Regions from separate parts of the Homo sapiens genome. Here region 2 is linked to region 1. Evidence: promoter capture Hi-C in 16 types of primary human blood cells and fetal thymus (Javierre and others, 2016). All regions are on one chromosome and are shown on one strand. Each heading gives the region's core, a stretch centred on a gene start or on the middle of the fragment in contact. The rest is flanking DNA. Distances are from core to core; before and after follow the strand shown. Region 1 holds the start of ZNF595 (zinc finger protein 595). Region 2 overlaps LOC107986338 (a long non-coding RNA gene).

Region 1 (5,710 bases), core at 2,504-5,003:
TCTGTGACTTTTCTGTATCTCTTCAACCCAAAGTCTGGCCCTGTCTTGTGAATCCTGGGCAGAAGCCAGCTTTTATGTGCAGATTCTAGGTGAGATCAATGTGTGCTGCATTCTTGAGTTACAGGAAACAGAGTAAAATCAGAGGAAAGACCTTCTCATGAAGCCTCCTTCAACATATTCTAAAGAATATTTTGAGCTAAAGGGAAAAAGCTGGGGTAAACATAAGTAGAGAGTTTATTTGAGCCAAAGCTTGAAGACTGCAATCCTGGAGTATAAAGTTGCCCTGAATATACACTCCAATTAGAAGCAGTTACAAGCATATTTTTACAGGCAAAAAGGAAGTCAGAGAGGAGATTGATAGAAAGGTGTCAGAAATTCTTATTGGTTTATAGAAGTAACATTGGTTAGTGATTGGCCATATACATAGTTAAGCTATAGGGTATGGGTCATAGTGTCCAGTGTGGCATTATTAGGTTAATTTACAGCCACTTGTGGCAATAGCAAGCAATTTCAAAAGACAAATAGTTCAAGGAGGAGAACAGTATGTGAGTGTGGTCTCATTTTAACACATCTCTGGGTCTGATAAATCTAAAAACTTGTATTTCTCAAATAAAAGTTCTTTTATCAAATCTCAGGACATAAATTCAGAATTTGGAACTGCACATTTAGGTCTTGGAGGGCTGGTGAGCTATGTTTGTGGGCCACAATGTGGCCCATGCCAAATGTTTGTGGGCATGTGGGCAAGGGGAGGTGGGAGGGAGCAGAATTTCTCAGGTTTAATCGATGCGTATGTGTGAATCTGGTTAGGTTTATGGGCCCCATATCTCTGAAATCAGTGTCAGAACGGAAGATGCCAGGAGCACTGAAGGCGGTGAAATAACTGACTGCTGTCCTGAAAAGTTATTTTTGTAGAAATTTAACTGCTCTAGAAAGGACTGTAGATGCCAAGAGAGAGACCATTCTGTTTGCAGATTTAGGAAATACTTTGCTGCACTTTGCCGCACAATTGCAGGTTGTGACTGGAATCCTGAGAAAGAATGTTTTCTCAAGTGAAGTCTGCTCGACATTTTGTGTATAACATCTGGTAATTCTGGACAGTGTGTGGAAAATATAACTAAAAGCAAAATCATCTGCAATCCTAAAAAAGTCTCCACAGTAACAGAACTGCAAGAAAATGTTTTGTTGTATAATTAAACCAAAATATGATGTGCATCACAAGCAATCTAAGAAAATGCAAACACAGAAAGTCACCATAATTAGTTCTCAAGTAGAAGCCTTGAAAGCACCATTTGTCATACACAATTTATTATAATTTCATCATGTAATTTGAGAGGTCATCTGGGTTTTCTAATTTTTTCTAATCATTAAAGAAAAAATAAACATCCACATCTTCGTGACAGGATGTAGATTTGCAATGTGGAGCTAGGTACCTGCTGAAGGCAGCCTCCTAGTCCCCTACAGAAACTGTGAAATAGGGTGTATATTCTTGCTATTTACATTTCAAAGCAATAGTTCCCAGGTCCCAGATGAAGACAATTTTGAGCCAAAAAAGACAAATGACCTATTTAACTGATAAAAATGATTTACATATATTTCAAAGAAGCAGAGAAAATATTTAAATATAAAAGTTCTCAAACTAAATGCTTTAAGAAAAAGGAGAAGAGCAAAAATTCTTCCCTCGTTCTAAAGAGAAAGCATTAAGCCTCTTCTAATTTGTGTTTGCTCCTACAACAGCCAGGCCAAAAGGCCTGGTTTCGAACTCACTAACGTCTGAATTCTCATAGGCACCTGAGGGATGGACTTGGGCACACCGTGTACACAGAAAAGAGAATTTGTGGGGAAGGAAAAAGCAGAAGAGAAAGGAGCTATCAACAGCCATGGGTGGGAGGCCGGGCGCGGTGGCTCACGCCTGTAATCCCAGCACTTTGGCAGGCCGAGGCGGGAGGGCTCAAGGTCAGGAGATCCAGACCATCCTGGCTAACACGGTGAAACCCCGTCTCTACTAAAAATACAAAAAAAAAAAAATTAGCCAGGCATGGTGGCGGGCGCCTGTAATCCCAGCTACTCGGGAGACTGAGTTAGGAGAATGGCGTGAACCTGGGAGGCGGAGCTTGCAGTAAGCCGAGATCACGCCACTGCACTCCAGCCTGGGCAACAGAGCAAGACGCCATCTCAAAAAAAAAAAGCCATGAGTGGGAGCAGGGCAGGACTGACTAAAGCACTGGTTTGTGCCACAGGTACAGGCCGAGGCAGGGCTACGCTCTGATTCCATGTCTACAAAGACAGAAGGGATTAGGATCAGGTGGTCCGGAAGCCTGGGTGGGTGAAGGAAGCAGGTTCCTGCTGTAGATCCGGTCTGCGGTTGAGATGAGCCAGGAGACTTCTGGGCACTGCGTGTGTTTTTGGCAGAAAACGCTAGGCGCAAAGCTGCCATGGGCACAATTCCTGAGGTGGAATCCTGTACTGGGAAGAGTGGGGCAATGCGAATGCCCGGTGGGCGTGCTCAGGAGTGGACTAGCATTGGGTGGGGGCTGGCAGCAGGGTGCAGGGAAGGGATGTTTCTCAGAACTCCTTTCCTCTTTGTTCTGGGTCCCCTCTCTCCCCGGAAGGAGACCTGGAGGAAAAGGACAGTGCCCAGCGGGACAGCACATATGCAGAACCCGGCCGCGCCTCCCGCAGACACCAGGCATCTTTCTCCAGCCCAGGCTCAGCCATGTCTTTCTTCTGACAGAAAACGTGCGGAGTTTCCTCAACACCAGTCAATGCTCCAACCCCAACGCGGTGTCCAGCAACTCACTAACGACACCACCCAGAGTCAGCGCAGACCCCACAAGCTCAGCGCTCTTCCCACAACTGCTCCCGCTGCAGACGCCAGTCCCTGCCTCTGGACACCCGTCTTCATTTCTGAACGCCTGTCTACAAACCAGGGGCGCCCACACCCTCAAGTTCAGCAATGTGGCAGAACTACTCACAGAACTGAGAAGCGCCGTGCGCACCGACACCAGCGTATTCTAAAAGATGTTACTCAGGAACAGCCACGCGGAGGAGGTGCACAGGGCAAAGGGACTGGTGGAATAGTTGGAGCGGGCGGGTGATTTGCTTCGCTTGCTCACACACCTCACAAAAGCCTTTCCTTCAAGACCCGCTGGCAGTCCCCAAACCAGGAGCCGCGGCCGACGCTGTCCCATTAATGAGACCCCGTTTGCTCACATGAACTTTGTTTCGATGGGGCCTCGATCTCATTCCGAACAGGGTAAAGTAGGGACCGGACCCCCGGACCACAGCTCCTCCCAGGCGGGCACCTCGCACGCGGGCGCCGGCGTCTTCCAGATGAGCTCCTCCTCACCCCGCGGCCCAGGGAAGGTGCGGGGCTGCGGGCGCAGAACTGCACAAGGAGGGCCGCAGGCTGGGCCAGAGCCGCCGTGCGGGGACCGACAGGAGCCCGGTCCGTCACCGGAGGGGACTGAGGGCTGAGAGGCGGCAGCGGGGACTCCGTTCGCAGACTCGGTCCCGCCGCCGCCATTTCCCGCCGGTTCCGATGAGGCCTCCCCAGCCTCCGGACGCCCTGCCCCGCACACTCACCATTTCCCGACTTCAGGGTATCCGGGAGTCTTAGCTACAAATTGTCCAATACCCTCAGGTCACAGAGCAACGGGAGGCAGAGGCTGTGGCTGAATCACCGAGGCCTCCCGGAGCCGAGAACGCAGAGAGCTGAAGCCCTAAACCAAGCCCTCGCAGGAGCCAGAGGAAAACGCCGCGCCAGATCCCGGAAGCCAACCCCTCCTCTCTGGCTGCGGGCCTGATTGGGCAGTTCTCATTCCGACACTCTGATTGGATATTACTCCAATCCCCGCCCTCGGGCCTTGAGTAACAGAATTTGCAACCATACACTCCACTGATGTGGCAAGAGTGACAGGCTGGGGCCTCCAGGCCCTTTCAGGCGGGGCTTTCTCTCCCGGCTTGGCCTGACGCAGCCCAGGGGTGTTTTTTTTAACCTTGTTGTGTGTAAGGTTATGTCCACTTGTAAAATACACTTACACACAGACGTGCACACACGCGCGCACACACACGCGCGCACACACACGCATGCACACATGCATGCACACACACTTTTTCACAAACGGAAGTGATATAATGACAATTATTTTAATATTTTAGATTTCATAACCCTTCTGGCCGCTAGTCTTTTGAGTAGGACACCTGAGATTTTAAGAGGGAAGCAATCCTTTAAAAAATAAAATATTAATTTGTGAATTTTGCGTTTTTATTAGCCACGTCAAAAATAATATTTAAAGAGTGAAGTTGTTTGTAATAATTTTTAACTCATTGTATCAAAATATTGTTTTAATATGTGATTGATATATAATTAGAAATAAAGTATATTTCTGATCTAATTCTTCTAAACTCACTGTGTATTTTATGTATTTCTGATCTAATTCTTCTAAACTCACTGTGTATTTTATGTTTGCAGCACATTTTACTTCAAACCAGTCACATTCCAGGTACCCAGTAGCTACATATGGCAGGTGGCTGCCACATTGAGCGCAGCCATGAGGGCTCTCTTCCCTTAGGGAAGTGAGGGCCTGAACACCTCTTTTCTGCTGGAAGTAAGGGACCAGCCTCTCTACCAACTTTTCTCCTCAGGCTCAAGGGTGGGTGGGACAGTGCCCCTAGAGAGAGCAGGGGCTGCAAGCTGAGAGTATCCACGTGAAGACCACGGTTTCCCAGTTGCTGTTTGGTGGAGGTGTGGTGGTCTCCTCGGTTCAGCCAGGTCGGGACTCTTGTGCCACGACCAAAAAGAATGAAGCACACGGATACCAGAGAGTGAGCAAGGCAGAGTAGGATTTATTAAGCAAAAGGAAAGCTCTCAGAAGCAAGAGGGGACCTGAAAGCAGGTTGCCAGAAATGAGGCTGAGGTCTGGGTCTTTTATGTGGCAAGAACAAGTATGTCTTCTGTGGGTTCTGCCCAAATGGGAGGGGTAAAGTTCCTCACTAAGGGTGTTGCATCTGCGCATGCCTGGGATTGGCCACAGTGACTCCATTTTGGTTATTACCCATGAGTGCCTAAGCGAAACTTACACGAGGAGAGCCAAAACCACAATGCTAATGTCATGTTAATGACCTTATAATGAGCTGGGTCAAGTTAAGGACATTTGGGTTGATTTATTGCGCCTGTGCTAAGTTGGGACAGTCCCTTTGGAGCAACATCCTGGCATAAGAGGAAGTTCTTAACCACATTTCTTCCTGCTAGCTACAGAGGTGGTGCAGGTGCGGTCCCACACGTGTTTTTCCTCTCCCCAGGCCCTCTCTCTATCTGCCTAACCAGCGTCCGACTGCCTCCTCTATCAAAGGTTCCTCTTCCTTTCAAATATCAGACAGCAAACAAAGAATGTTGGGGCCACACAAGCAGAGAACACCATGTCTTCAGATCTCTTCACAGCCTTGTCCTCCAGAGTTTAGAAGTGGAGGGAAAAGATTAAAGGCAATCTTCTTGTTTTGCTATTTGTCCTTGGACCTAATCTGGACCTAATTTGGACACACAGGCTGTAACTATGTGTTTTTCTCCTTTGGTGTGGGGCACTGTGAGTTTAAGCACCAATCACATGCATCCACATCTAACTGCACTTCTGTTCCCAGAACGAAGGCCGTGAGTGTGAGTTGTCCAGGTCCTTGGCAACAAAGAATTGAACAAAATGCACAAAGTAACAAA
Region 2 (5,981 bases), core at 675-3,174, about 190 Mb before region 1:
TGACTGTTACACATTTCTGCAGAGGTTGCAAACGCAGATTCAGACCTCTACTCCTTTTCATTATTTGGGAATGCAAGTAGAGGAAAGAAAAATTAAACCACAACAAATAGAAATAAGAAAAGACACATTAAGAACATTAAATGACTTTCAAAAATTGCTAGGAGATATTAATTGGATTCGGCCAACTCTAGGCATCCCTACTTATGCCATGTCGAATTTGTTCTCTATCTTGAGAGGGTATCCAGACTTGAATAGTAAAAGAACATTAACTCCAGAGGCAGCTAAGGAAATTGAATTAGTTGAAGAAAAAATTCCGTCAGCACAAGTAAATAGAATAGATCACTTAGCCCCACTCCAACTTTTGATTTTTGCTACTGTACATTCTCCAACAGGCATTATTGTTCAAAATACAGATCTTGTGGAGTGGTCATTCTTTCCTCACAGTACAATTAAGACTTTTACATTGTACTTAGATCAAATGGCTACATTAATTGGTCAGGGAAGACTACGAATAGTAAAATTGTGTGGAAGTGACCCAGATAAAATCATTGTTCCTTTAAACAAGGAACAGGTTAGACAAGCCTTTATCAATTCTGCTGCATGGCAGATTGGTCTTGCTGCTTTTGTGGGAATTGTTGATCATCATTACCCAAGAACAAAAATCTTCCAGTTTTCAAAATTGACTACTTGGATTTTACCTAAAATTACCAGACATAAACCTTTAGAAAATGCTCTGATGGTGTTTACTGATGGTTCCAGCAATGGAAAAATGGCTTACCCCAGGCCAAAAGAATGAATCATTGAAACTCAATATCACTCAGCTCAAAGAGCAGAATTGGTTGCTGTTATTTCAGTGTTACAAGATTTTAATCAGCCTATTAACATTGTTTCAGATTCTGCATATGTAGTACAGGCTACAAAGGATGTTGAGACAGCCCTAATCAAATGTAGTATGGATGATCAGTTGAATCAGCTGTTTAATTTTTTACAATAAACTGTAAGAAAAAGAAATTTCCCATTTTATATTACTCATATTCAAGCACATACTAATTTACCAGGGCCTTAACTAAGGGAAATGAACAAGCTGACTTGCTAGTATCATCTGCCTTCATGGAAGCACAAGAACGTCATGCTCTGACTCATGTAAATGCAACAGGATTAAAAAATAAATTTGATATCACATGGAAACAGGCAAAAAATATTGTACAACATTGTACTGAGTGTCAAGTCCTACACCTGCCCACTCAGGAGGCAGGACTTAATCCCAGAGGTTTATGTCCTAATGCATTATGGCAAATGGATGTCACACATGTACCTTCATTTGGAAAATTGTCATTTGTCCATGTGATGGTTGATACTTGTTCACATTTCATATGGGCAACCTGCTAGACAGAAAATGTACTTCCCATGTTAAAAGACATTTATTATCTTGTTTTGCTGTCATGGGAGTTCCAGAAAAAATTAAAACAGATAATGGACCAGGCTACTATAGTAAAGCATTCCAAAAATTCTTAAATCAGTGGAAAATTACACATACAACAGGAATCCCTTATAATTCCCAAGGACAGGCCATAATTGAAAGAAATAATAGGACACTCAAAGCTCAATTTGTTAAACAAAAAAGGAAAAAGAGAGTAAGGAGTATAACACTCCCCAGATGCAACTTAATCTAGCACTCTATACTTTAATTTTTTTAAACATTTATAGAAATAAGACCACTACTTCTGCAGAACAACATTTTACTGGTAAAAAGAACAGCCCACATGAGGGAAAACTGATTTGGTGGAAAGATCAAAAATAAGACATGAGAAATAGGTAAGGTGATAACATGTGGGAGAGGTTTTGCTTGTGTTTCACCAGGAGAAAATCAGCTTCCTGTTTGGATACCCACTAGACATTTGAAATTCTACAATGAACCCATCAGAGATGCAAAGAAAAGTGCCTCCGTGGAGATGGAAAACCCGCAATGGAGCACCATCGACTCGCCAGGTGAACAAAATGGTGATATCAGAAGAACAGATGAAGTTGCCATCCACCAAGAAAGTGGAGCTGCTGACCTGGGCCCAGCTAAAGAAGCTGACACAGTTAGCTGAAAAAAAGCCTGAAGAATACAAGGTTAACACAAACTCCAGAGAATATGCTGCTTGCAGCTTTAATGATTGTACCAACGGTGGTAAGTCTCCCTATGTCTGCAGGAGCAGCTGCAGCTAATTATACTTACTTGGCCTATGTGCCTTTCCCACCCTTAATTCGGACAGTCACTTGGATAGATAATCCTATTGAAGTATATGTTAATAATAGTGCATGGGTACCAGGCCCCACAGATGACCGTGGCCCTGCCCAACCTGAAGAAGAAGGAATGATGATAAACATTTCCATTGGGTATCATTATCCTCCTATTTGCCTGGGGAAAGCACCAGGATGCTTAATACCTACAACCCAAAATTGGTTGGTAGAAGTACCTACTGTCAGTGCCATCAGCAGATTTACTTATCACATGGTAAGTGGAATGTCACTCAGGCCACAGATAAATAATTTACAGGATTTTTCTTATCAAAGATCATTACAATCTAGGCCTAAGGGGAAGCCTTGCCCCAAGGAAATTCCCAAAGAATCAAAAAGCCCAGAAGTCCTAGTTTGGGAAGAATGTGTGGCTGATACTGCAGTGGTACTACAAAACAATGAATTTGGAACTATTATAAACTGGGCTCCTTGAGGCCAATTATATCATAGTTGTGCAGGCCAGACTCAACCATGTTGACAGGTCCCATCCATCTGGCCCATTAATCTGGCCTATGAAAGGCTGGACCAGGTTTATAGTAGGTTAGAATCACTCTATCCATGGAAATGGGGTGTGTAAAACCCCCTTATATGCTAGTTGTAGGAAACAGAGTTATTAAACCAGATTCCCAAACTATAACCTGTGAAAATTGTAGATTGTTTACTTGCATTGATTCAACTTTGGATTGGCAACACTGTATTCTGCTAGTGAGGGCAAGAGAGGGCGTGGGGATCCCTGTGTCCATGGACCAACAGTGGGAGGGTTCCCCATCCATCCATATTTTAACAGAAGTATTAAAAGGAGTTCTAACTAGATCCAAAAGATTCATTTTTACTTTGATTGCAGTGATTATGGGTCTTATCACAGCTACTGCTGCGGCTGCTGGAATTGCTTTACACTCCTCTGTTCAAACTGCAGAATATGTGAATAATTGGCAAAAGAATTCCTCAAAATTGTGGAATTCTCATACCCAAATAGATCAAAAATTGGCAAACCAAATTAATGATCTTAGACAAACTGTAATTTGGATTGGAGATAGGCTCATGAGCTTGGAATACCTTTTTCAGTTACAGTGTGACTGGAATACATCAGATTTTTGTATTACACCTCGAGCTTATAATGAATCTGAACATCACTAGGACATGGTGAGATGCCATCTACAAGGAAGAGAAGATAATCTTACCTTAGAGATTTCAAAATTAAAAGAACAAATTTTTGAGGCATCAAAAGCCCAGTTAAATCTGGTACCAGAAACTGAGGCAATCATGAAAGCTGTTGATAGCCTCACAAATCTTAACCCTGCCACTTGGGTTGAAAACATTGGAAGTTCCACCATTGAAATTTTTGTATTAATCCTTGTATGTCCGTTCTCTCTGTTGTTAGTCTACAGGTGTATCCAGCAGCTCTGGAGAGACAGTGACCAGTGAGAATGGACCATGATGACCATGGCAGTTTTGTCAAAAAGAAAAGGGGGATATGTAGGGAAAAGAGAGATCAGACTGTTACTGTGTCTATGTAGAAAGGGAAGACATAAGAAATTCCATTTTGATCTGTACCTTGAAAAATTGTTTTGCTGAGATGCTGTTAATTTGTAACTTTGCCCCAGCCACTTTGCCCCAACTTTGAGCTCACAAAAACATGTGTTATATGGAATCAAGGTTTAAGAGATCTAGGGCTGGGCAGGATGTGCCTTGCTAACAAAATATTTACAAGCAGTATGCTTGGTAAAACTCATTGCCATTCTCTAGTCTCAATAAACCAGGGGCACAATGCACTGCAAAAAGCCACAGGGACCTCTGCCCTGGAAAGCCGGGTATTGTCCAAGGTTTGTCCCCATGTGATAGTCTGAAATGTGGCCACATGGGATGAGAAAGACCGGACTGTCCCCCAGCCTGACACCTGTAAAGGGTCTGTGCTGAGGTGGATTAGTAAAAGAGGAAAGCCACTTGCAGTTGAGATAGAGGAAGGCCACTGTTTCCTGCCTGCCCCTGGGAACTTAATGTCTCGGTATAAAACCCGATTGTACATATGTTCAATTCTGAGATAGGAGGAAAACTGCCCTATGGTGGGAGGCGAGACATGTTGGCAGCAATGCTGCCTCGTTATTCTTTACTCCACTGAGATGTTTGGGTGGGAAGAAACATAAATCTGGCCCACGTGTACATCCAGGCATAGTACCTCCCCTTGAACTTAATTATGATATAGATTCTTTTGCTCACGTGTTTTTTTGCTGACCTTCTCCTTATTATCACCCTGCTCTCCTACTGCATTCCTCTTGCTGAGATAATGAAAATAATAATCAATAAAAACTGAGGGAACTCAGAGACCGGTGCTGGTGCAGGTCCTTGGTATGCTGAGTGCAGGTCCCCTGGGCCCACTATTCTTTCTCTATAGTTTGTCTTGTATCTTATTTCTTTTCTCAGTCTCTCATCCCACCTGATGAGATATACCCACAGATGTGGAGGGCCAGGCCACCCCTTCAAACATAAACTTATGTTTAGTTTAATATAGATACACACAGTTCTACATAGAAAACTTTATAATCAGGTGTGTATAGGTAGGTTAGACACACACATATACTTCCTAGCATTGCTAATGAGGGACAAGATACAATGTGCTAATTCAACAGCCAGATGTAAGTTTTCCTACCATTCTGAAAGGAATCAGGCTCTTTGAAGAAATGTCTGATACTAGAACTGGGACAGTAAATATAGGAGCCAGGATAATCTTGAAGTATCAGAAAGTAAGTACTAAAAAAAATTAAAATATATCAAAGAAAAATAAGAGCCAATAATAACAGCTACCGAAGGCCAACACAGGAATGAATTGTGCAACACAATGCTGCAGTGTTGAATAATAACTGAAGCTTAAAGTAATTATCTAGGTGTCTGTATTTGTATACATAGGTGAATAAGCTAATGGAGTTGCATAGAAATCTCCTTTGCAAAAGAATTCCAAATAATTGATGTAGACACTCAGCCATCAGGAAGGTGGAGCCAACTCCTCACTCCATGAGTGTGGGCTCTGCATAGTGACTTGCTCCAAAAGAACACATGCAGTATGGACAAGGAGGAAAAATAACTTCACAGTGGAGAAACCTGACAAACAGTAGCTCTGCCAAATGATCCAAGTGAACATCAAAAATGACAGTTTACCTTGAGAACATGAAGTGAAAATGGGGGACATTCTACAAAATTCCTGACCAATCCTCCTCAGTACTGTCAAGGTCATCATGAGATGGAAAGCCTGACACACTGTCACAGCCAGGAAGAGCCTATGTGATGACTACATGTCGTGCGGGATCCTGGATGGGATCCTGGGTCAGAGTAAGACAGACCTAAGGGAGTCCAAATGAAATGTGAACTTTAGTTAATAATAGTCTATCAGTATTGGTTCATTAACTGTGACAAATTATGTAAGATATTAATAAGCCATGTGAGACACACTGATAGAAGATGTTAATGAGAGGAAACTAGGTTGTGGCTACATGGGAAATCTCTGCTTTTTTTTTTTTTTTTTGGTAATTTCTGTGTAAGTAAAAAAAAAAGATGTAAAATAAAACTTTATTTAAAACCTTTTTATATTTTTTAATGCTTCCTTGCTTAATTATTTATACCGTGAATTACTAGTAATTGACACTGTTAACTAGTCCTGTTTTTTTAAATAAGAGCATTTATGACACAAAAAATTAAACAGTGCA

Evidence for each region. The method cuts DNA at HindIII sites, captures the fragments that hold promoters and counts their contacts. A CHiCAGO score of 5 or more calls a contact.
Region 2: a fragment that was not itself captured here is called in contact with the fragment with the promoter of ZNF595 in region 1 in 17 of 17 cell types (M0 macrophages, endothelial precursors, total B cells and 14 more); the score reaches 128.7 in M0 macrophages.

Annotation. Positions count from the first base shown.
Region 1 is chr4:51,364-57,073 of GRCh38, reverse strand. ZNF595 (zinc finger protein 595) reads right to left here and starts at 3,753. Exons shown (of 4, transcript NM_182524.4): 1 at 3,583-3,753. The coding sequence starts at 3,585. It also overlaps the pseudogene LOC105374377. RefSeq lists enhancers at 2,010-2,950, 2,951-3,892. The HindIII fragment of the contact is 7,613 bases long and covers 252-5,710 here.
Region 2 is chr4:190,105,041-190,111,021 of GRCh38, reverse strand. LOC107986338 (a long non-coding RNA gene) reads left to right here. Exons shown (of 3, transcript XR_001741971.3): 2 at 1,895-2,173; 3 at 3,665-5,776. Among named protein-coding and RNA genes, the nearest start is that of DBET, 44 kb to the right of the region's middle. RefSeq lists an enhancer at 1,985-2,523. The HindIII fragment of the contact is 6,450 bases long and covers 1-5,149 here.